Linked DNA regions of Homo sapiens: all the other regions are linked to region 1. The links are contacts of gene promoters, found by promoter capture Hi-C in blood cells and fetal thymus (Javierre and others, 2016). All regions are on one chromosome and are shown on one strand. The core of a region is centred on a gene start or on the middle of the fragment in contact, and the rest is flanking DNA. Distances in the headings are between cores, read along the strand shown.

Region 1 (2,700 bases), core at 23-2,522:
CTCAATAAAAGTTGAACAATCTGTAAAATGCTTCCTTCCCTTAGTCCGTTTCCATTTCAGACTTCCTTTTTTTTCACTACATCACAATTTTCTAACACATTCACACATAAACGTGATCATGATTTGGTAGTTTCTGATCATGTGTAGTACTGAGACACTACTTTTCATCTGTTTTCGGCATTGGCTTCAAATGGATATATAACACAGTCGACACTCTCCAAGTAAACCATGTTTACTAAACTGATATTAAGTATAAAAGTCAGCCAGAAATAACGATAAAATGTCTGCTGCTAACAGCTCACATACTCGGATAAATTCATAGTGAACAGAGGCGTACTCGTATATATACTATCTACATGTTTATAGCAGATGTTAACTGGGGATATCTTTGGGTGCAAATTTCAAGGATGATATAAAAGCCAATATAAAAACAAGTCATGCTACTCTATTCGACAGATTAGAAATGGAATGTTTTCCTACCAAAATACAGGAAGCCTTGCAAAAAACCTTTTCCGTCTCGCATTGCTCTGAAGCCATACAGATAAGGGACGCGGTGTTTTTACCAACTGCCCCATGCAAAAAACACATACTACACACACACTGGTTTCTTCTCTGTCCATAAACAGAGAAAACACCGAAGAAAGCAGTATTAAAATTACACGTAATCTACTCTCCACGACTGCGAGAAACACCGTCTTTCTGGGTGCTTTCCATTGACACCCGCCCGCGGTCAACTCTGCCCAGTTGGAAAAATCATTAGGAAAAAGAGGATTAAGTTTCCCAATGCTAAGAACGCTGGAGACAAAGGGTCCTTTGTGGCAAATAGGAAACTGCGGAGGGGCAGAAAACCAGAAGAAAGGCGTTAGGGTGGCGTCAAGAAGTGGAAACCTTGTTTAAAAACTCAGGAGAGGTGGAGGGCGCCGCTCTCGCCGAGGGCTCAGGCTGGGGAGGGGTCTGGTGCCGCCACTGGAGAGCAGGAAGGCCAGCGGCCTTGCAAAAAGGGCCAAGGCTCCCCCGAAACGCCGCTCCACCCACACCCCAAGGGACGAAGGGAGCGGTCGATCGCCTCCCGAACCGGAGAGGCGGGAAGGGTGGTGAGGCCGTTCCCCAACGGCGCGCGGAAGGCGCAGCCCCAGGCTTGACCGGAACGGAGGTGGCAACCCCACCACACGACAAGCGAGCCGGGGACCGCGATGTACCTTTAACGCCCGCCATGTCTCCCGAACTGGGGCCGCGGCTGCTTCCGGCTTCCTGCCACGGCCCGGGCAGCCTGCCCAAGCCAGACCGGGAGTCGCCCCGCGGATCCCGAGCCCGCCCCGGCCACGCAGAGCCCCGCCCCCGCCGGTGCAGAACTCCGACCTTAGCTCGCAAACGCGGCGCCTGCTGCTCCAGACCCCGCCCCCACCACTCACAACCCCGCCCCCGCCGGTGCAGAACCCCGCCCCCAGCTCGCAGAGGCCGCGCCTGATAGTTCAGACCCGGCCTCGCTACTCAGAGCCCCGCCCCTGACAGTACAGAGCTCCTCCCCTACCTCGCGGAGGCAGCGCCTGCGGCTCCAGACCTCGCTACCGCTACTCGAAGCCCCGCCCCAGACAATGCAGAGCTCCTCCCCTAGCTCGCGGAGGCCTCCCCTGCTGGTCCCGCCCCAGCCCTCACCGGCCCAGAATTCCGCCCCCAACTCTCAGAGGCCGTCCCTGCTGGTCCCGACCCCGCCCCCGCCACCCAGAACTCCGCTCCTGCCAGTCTAGAACTCCGCCCCCAGCTCGCAGAGTCCATCTCCAGCCCTAAGGTCCCACCTGGTCCCACAGAGCTTTCCCAGAGTAACCCCAACCCAGTGCCCTGGGCCCTCCTCCTAGATCCTGAGCCCTCCAAGTAATCCTCAAGCCCGTTCAATGTGGGTTGGGACCTTGGCTCCGCCCCGACCGCGGGCCCAGAGTCTCTCCCCGGCCTCTCAGAACGCAGTGCACGCAGCGGGGGATCCTCCCTGAGCCTTCCTGAGAACGGAGATGTAGAAAGTGGGGAGAGGCAGGAGAGGGAAGGAGGGGAAAAGTTGCAATCGATGGGAGAGGGACACCGACTCACTAACCAGTGTTATGTTCCCTGAGCTCCCAAGTGCGTGCTAGTGTGCGAGTGTGTGCCTGTCTGCCTTCACATGACTGTGGCAGAGGAGAGGCGGGGTACCAGAGGACAGGCCCCTTAGGAAACACTCCTCATTAAGAACTTGATATTTGCATAGGTTTGCTTTGCTTAATAGCAACGCTTTACTGAAACTAGCGGGGTTTTTCTTTACTCCCTGGTTTATTTATAGAGACGAAGACCATATAAGCTTTTGTGTCCGAAGCTTTCATGAACCTTAAAAAAAAAAATAAAAAAAAAAAGCTATTATTTTTGTGCCTTGGGGCCTCAAAGTTTGCAGGTAACCAAGGCCAGTTTTTAGATCTCTGAGAGCCATTGTGTACTTATCTTACAGGAATGGAGAGTTCTGTTTTGGCAAAAGCAATCTAGAAGATCATTGAAACAGTCTGGTCCAAATGCTTCAACTTACATTTAAGGAAAGAGGTGCAGAAAGGATAGGACTTGCCTGTCACACAGCTCTTTGGAGGAGGTTGGATTCTGGGCCACTTCCCCTCATTCTAGCTGAGATCCACTCTACCTGATGGTGCCGTCCCTCTTCTCTTGCTTTTTCTCCGTTTTCAAAAG
Region 2 (2,700 bases), core at 115-2,614, 1.0 Mb before region 1:
AAAAAACTGTTGGAGCTCAGGACAAATCACCCCTAAATATTCCTCTTGGGCATGCTATTTATTAGCAGATTATTTTGAGAAACTAGATGCAAGAGCGCTCTGAATAGCTACCCTTTTGTAAAATAAATGTGCATCTCTAAGGAAAATTTTTATTAATAAAGATATCTGTATTAAGGAAAGAGCTGCTCCTGAGACAACTCTTACCACCTGAGAGATCCTTATCTGTATAATGAGACCACATTTATTCACTGTACATTTCCCCCCCCTCATCCTTCCATAACTTGTCCCCACTACTCCTTAGGAGCCCCAAACCCCTCTTTCTGTCTGTAGCTCAGGATTCCATAATATATAAGCATCAATCATTCAGCTCTTCTTTGAGTCTCATATTTTTGTGGGACTCCTGTGCATACATACACAATTCAAATTATTTTTCACCTGTTAATATGCCTTATGTCAATTTAATTCATGGCTCAGCCAAAGAACCTGAAGGGTACAGAGAAATCATTTTTTTCTTCCCATGCAAACCTAATACAGCTTGCAATCCTAAGCAATAGACCCTGTCTACCTATTTATTGTAGAAATTTTAGAAAACAAAGAAGAAAGTGTACAAAGCATTCTTGATCCTATGTTCCCAAGTCCATCACTATGGATTGTATATTTTTAAGTTTGTTTTTGCTTCCTCCCAAACACCATTTCATTCAGTTTCATCGTTTAAAAATAGCAGCAACTCTCTTGTGTATTTTCTTTCATTTTATCATTTGATCAGCTCTACTCCTTGTGGGATGTGCTTTAAAAATAGTGAAAATGGCTATTAACCTCAGAATCCTCAGTTTTTTTATCATCGTCATAACCACCATGATCATTTCAGCTCACCATCTCGCCCTACCTTCCTAACTGCTGCTTTGCAAGCCCTCCTCCTGCTTGTGCACCAACTTTTACTCCTGTAACTCCAAATTAGTTGCGTTAGAATTTGCTTCCATCATCTCATCTATGTATCTTGATCATCTGTTTGGATATACTATCCTTTTATATCTCTGGGCTGTGTTATAGGTAATTTATTCAAGTTATATTTTCCAACTCTCTAATAGTCTTTTCATCTTTGTTTAATTTGCTGTTTCATTCAGCCATTGCGATCCGGGTGTGTATTTGAAATCTACGAGTTTTATTTAGTTCTTTCTAAAATCTGCCATATTGGTTTTTAAACTTTTGTATTTATTTTTTGAATGTGTTTTTTTTGTAGAGATGGGGGTCTCACCATGTTGCCTAGGCTGGTCTCAAACTTCTGGGCTCAAGGCCTCCCACCTTGGCCTCCCAGAGTGCTGGAATTACAGACATGAGCCACTGCGCCCAGCCCAGTTTTCACATTCTGTTTTTCTTGCTTTTTTAAAATTTCCTTTTCCATTTCTTTTGACCTTTTACACATGGTTGTTTCTGTTGACAAAAAGCCAAACTCTGTAAAATATTTGAAGAGATTTCTTCTAAGTCAAATGCAAAGACCATGACCCATGATACAGCCTCAGGAGGTCCTGAGAACATGTGCCCAATGTGGTTGGGTTACAGGTTGGTTTTATACATTTTAGGGAGACACAGGACATCAATCAATACATATGAGGTATACATTGCTTTGGTCTGGAAAGGTGAGACAACTTGAAGTGGGGGCTTACAGGTCATAGATGAATTCAAAGATTTTCTGATTGACAATTTGTTGAAAGAGTTAGTTATTATCTAAAGACCTGGAATCAACAGAAAGGAGTGTCTGGGTTAACGTAAGGTGATGTGGAGACCACAGTTCTTATTATGTAGGTGAAGTCTCATAGGCAGCTGCTCTTAGAAGTAATAAATGGCTAATATTCTAATATTTCCTATTCATACCTTTAAAAATGCTAAACTCTCATCTAATCCCTTCAGGGTCAGAAAAATACCTGGAAAGGGAAGGGGATTCTCTGCAGAATGTAAATTTTCCCCACAGGAGACAGCTTTGCAGGGCCATTTCAAAATATGGCAAAGAATTATAATTTGGGGTAAAATACTTTTGTTTCTTTCAGGCCCTGCTATCTGTCATGTGATGCTATGCTTGAGTCAGGTTGGAAGTTGGTATCTTAATGTTACCAGAGTCTGTTTTGTCAGTCTTGAGATCTCTGTTTTAATTTTAATGCTGGACAGTTGTGCCTGAATTCCAAAGAGAGGAGGGTGTAATGAGGCATGTCCAATTCCCCTGCCCTTCGCATCATGGCTGGAACTAGTATTTTATGTTTCTTTGGAATCCCCTTGGCTGACAGGAGGGGTCCATTGAGTTGGTTGGGGGGACTTAGAATTTTATTTTTGGTTTGCATTTCACATTCTTTTTCGGATCACTCCAATATCTGGTCTTTGAAAGTCTAATCTTTCATGTATTATTTCTGCTGTCTCTCATGTGCTCCTTGTGTGTTCTTTGGTTTTGGTTTTTCTGTTTTCGTTATGAGCTATATTTTATGGAATACAATCTGTAAGAATCCAATAACCTATATTGGAGGTGCTGATTGCAGCAATGTAAGTATTTATTTCCAGACAATCCCACCATATAACTCCCTCCTCTGCTCACTTGCTTACTGCTACGGCTGCCTGCTCAGGTTGTAGTTCATTGCTTCTGTTATTATTTACTTAACTCTTAGAGCCTCAGAAGTTTTCCCTCACTTTTTAATAAGTGTAACAATGCATTAA
Region 3 (2,700 bases), core at 142-2,641, 1.9 Mb after region 1:
GAAAAGAAAGGGAAAGGTAGATATAACAGTCTAACAGGAGAGAAACCAAATGATCAATATCCAGAATGAAAGGGTAAATTGTACTTAGATGAAAGAGAACATAAACTATCAATATCCAAAATGAAAGAGCAGAATACCACTAAAGATGCTATAGATATTGAAAGAGGTAATATCATTAAAGCCTTTATTCCAGTAAACTTGACAACTTATACAAAATTGACAAATTCCTTGAAAAATACAACTTAGCATGATGGCATAAGATGATACAGAAAATCTGCATAATTAAGGAAATAGAATTTGTTACTAAGAATCTTCCCACAAAGACCCAGACGATTTCATTGGTTAATTGTACAGAGAACATACCCATTCGTGAGAAAATAAAACCCTCAGCAAACTAGGAATAGGAGGCAACTTCTCATTTCTTTGAAAAACCTATAGATAATATATTTAGTATCGAAAACTTTTTTAAGATTAGGAAAAAGGCAAGAACGTGCCCTCTCACCACTTCTATTCAAAAAAGCACACACAGAAAAACACCCATAGTGTTAAAAAGGAAAAAGTGGGGCCAGGCCCAGTGGCTCATGCCGGTAATCCCATCACTTTGGGAGGCTGAGACAGGCAGATTGCTTGAGCCCAGTAGTTCAAGATTAGCCTGGGCAATATGGCAAAACGCTGTCTCTACGAAAAAATATGAAAATTAACAAGGTGTGACGTTACGTGCCTGTAGTCCCAGCTACTTGGGAGGCTGAGGCAGGAGGATCACTTGAGCCGAGGAAGTCAAGGCTGCAGTGAGCTGTGATTGTGTCACTTGCATTCCAGCCTGGATGACCCTGTCTCAAGACAAACAAAAACAACAACAACAAAAAAGGAAAAAGTAAAATTAATGATTCAACAATGACATCATGTATGAAGAAAATCCTAAAAAATCTATAAAACAATTTTCAGAACAATTTAGCAAGGATGTAGGATGCAAAATCAGTGTACAAAGATCAATATATTTCTATATTTCAGGAATAAACACCTGGAAATTGAAGTTTAAGATTTTTCATTTATAATTACATAAAAACATATAATAATTTAGCATAAGACATGCAAGACCTCTACAGTGAAAATTACAAAATGTTCCTTAGAGAAATTAAAGATGAAGATAAATGAGAGTATTTTTATTTATTTTTTATTTATTTTTATTTATTTTTATTTTTTTATTATTATACTTTAAGTTTTAGGGTACATGTGCACAATGTGCAGGTTAGTTACATATATATACATGTGCCATGCTGGTGAGAGTATTTTTAAGTGATAAATGTGGTATTATTAAAATGTTAGTTCTCACCAATGTTTAGATTTAATGCAATCCCTGTCATAATCCTAACAAACATTTCTTTTTAAGTTTTGCTCTTTTTTTATTTCTACTGTTTAAAATGGATCTTTTTTAAAAAAAGTTAAGTGGATGAAAACTTGTATAATAGTATTTGGTATTATCTTTATCTTTTCTGTTTTATATTTCATTTTTCATGTAATCTAATTTTCCTTCTTTGTACTTTCTTTTTTTGAGTATGATCATTTATACCTAACTTATTTGTTTTTATTTTTTATAGACTCAGGGTGTATATGTGCAGATTTGTTACAAGGATATATTGCATAATGGTGAGGTTTGAGCTCGTAGGTGCCCATCACACAAATAGTGAACATTGTACCCGAAAGATAATTTTTCAACCCTCACCTTCCTCCCATACTTCCTCCTTTTGAAGTCTCAGTGTCTATTATTTCCCTCTGTATGTTCATATGTACCCATTGTTTAGCTCCCACTAATAGATGAGAACATGTGGTATTTGCTTTTCTTTTTTTTTCTTTTTTCTTTTTTTTTTTTTTTCATGAAACAAGGTCTTACTCTGTCACCCAGGCTGGACTGCAGTGGCATGAACATGGCTCACTGCAACCTTCACCTCCTGGGCTCAAGTGATCCTCCTGCCTCAGCCTTCCAAGTAGCTGGGACTACAGGTGTACACCACCACACTGGCCTAATTTTTAATTTTTTTGTAAAGACAGAGTCTCATTGTGTTGCCCATGTTGATCTCAAACAATCCTCATGCCTTAGCCTCCTAAAATGCTGAGATCACAGGTGTGAGCACTGCCACACCCAGTTGATTTTCTTTGCTTTCCTTTCCTCTTTTTTCTCTTGTTTTCTTTCTTTTCTTTCCTTTTCCCTTCCCCCCCCCTTCTCCCCCACCTTCCCCCGCTCCGCTTCCCTTCCCCTCCCCTCTCCTCTTTTTTTTTTTTTTTTTTTTTGAGACATGGTCTTGCTCTGTCACCCAGGCTAGAGTGCAGTGGTGCAGTTTGCTCACCACAACCTCTGCCTCCCAGGCTCACTCTGGACTCAAGCAATCTGCTCAGCTCAGCCTCCCAAAGTGTTGGGATTACAGATGTGAGCCACCATGCCTGGCCTAATTTTCTGCTTCTGAGTTATTCCAGTTAAGATAATGATTTCCAGCTCTATTCATGTTGTTGCAGAACAACACGGTATCATTCTTTTTTATGGCTGCATAGTGTTCCATGGTGTATATATACCACATTTCTTTATCCAGTCATCCATTGATGGACACAAGATGATTCCATGACTTTGCTGTTGTGAATAGTGCTACAATAAATGTACAAGTACATTTGTCTTTTTGATATAATGATTTATTTTCCTTTGATAGA

Evidence for each region. Contacts are between HindIII fragments. The CHiCAGO score rates a contact against its expected background, and 5 or more counts as called.
Region 2: a fragment that was not itself captured here is called in contact with the fragment with the promoter of LEPR in region 1 in 3 of 17 cell types (fetal thymus, total CD4 T cells and non-activated CD4 T cells); the score reaches 6.8 in fetal thymus.
Region 3: a contact is called between a fragment that was not itself captured here and the fragment with the promoter of LEPR in region 1, in 1 of 17 cell types (activated CD4 T cells). The highest score is 7.2, in activated CD4 T cells.

Annotation. Positions count from the first base shown.
Region 1 is chr1:65,419,240-65,421,939 of GRCh38, reverse strand. It overlaps LEPR (leptin receptor), which reads right to left and starts at 1,272. Exons shown (of 20, transcript NM_002303.6): 1 at 1,200-1,272. It overlaps LEPROT (leptin receptor overlapping transcript), which reads right to left and starts at 1,272. Exons shown (of 4, transcript NM_017526.5): 1 at 1,200-1,272. The coding sequence starts at 1,215. RefSeq lists enhancers at 769-818, 892-1,425, 1,426-1,958 and silencers at 1,189-1,688, 1,709-1,778. The HindIII fragment of the contact is 9,332 bases long and covers 1-2,328 here.
Region 2 is chr1:66,447,217-66,449,916 of GRCh38, reverse strand. No RefSeq gene overlaps it. Among named protein-coding and RNA genes, the nearest start is that of SGIP1, 86 kb to the left of the region's middle. The HindIII fragment of the contact is 4,206 bases long and covers 1-2,700 here.
Region 3 is chr1:63,515,886-63,518,585 of GRCh38, reverse strand. All of the region lies in intron 1 of ITGB3BP (integrin subunit beta 3 binding protein), which reads left to right. LOC102724319 (a long non-coding RNA gene) reads right to left here. Exons shown (of 3, transcript XR_426701.4): 3 at 792-830. Among named protein-coding and RNA genes, the nearest start is that of ITGB3BP, 6.0 kb to the left of the region's middle. The HindIII fragment of the contact is 5,782 bases long and covers 1-2,700 here.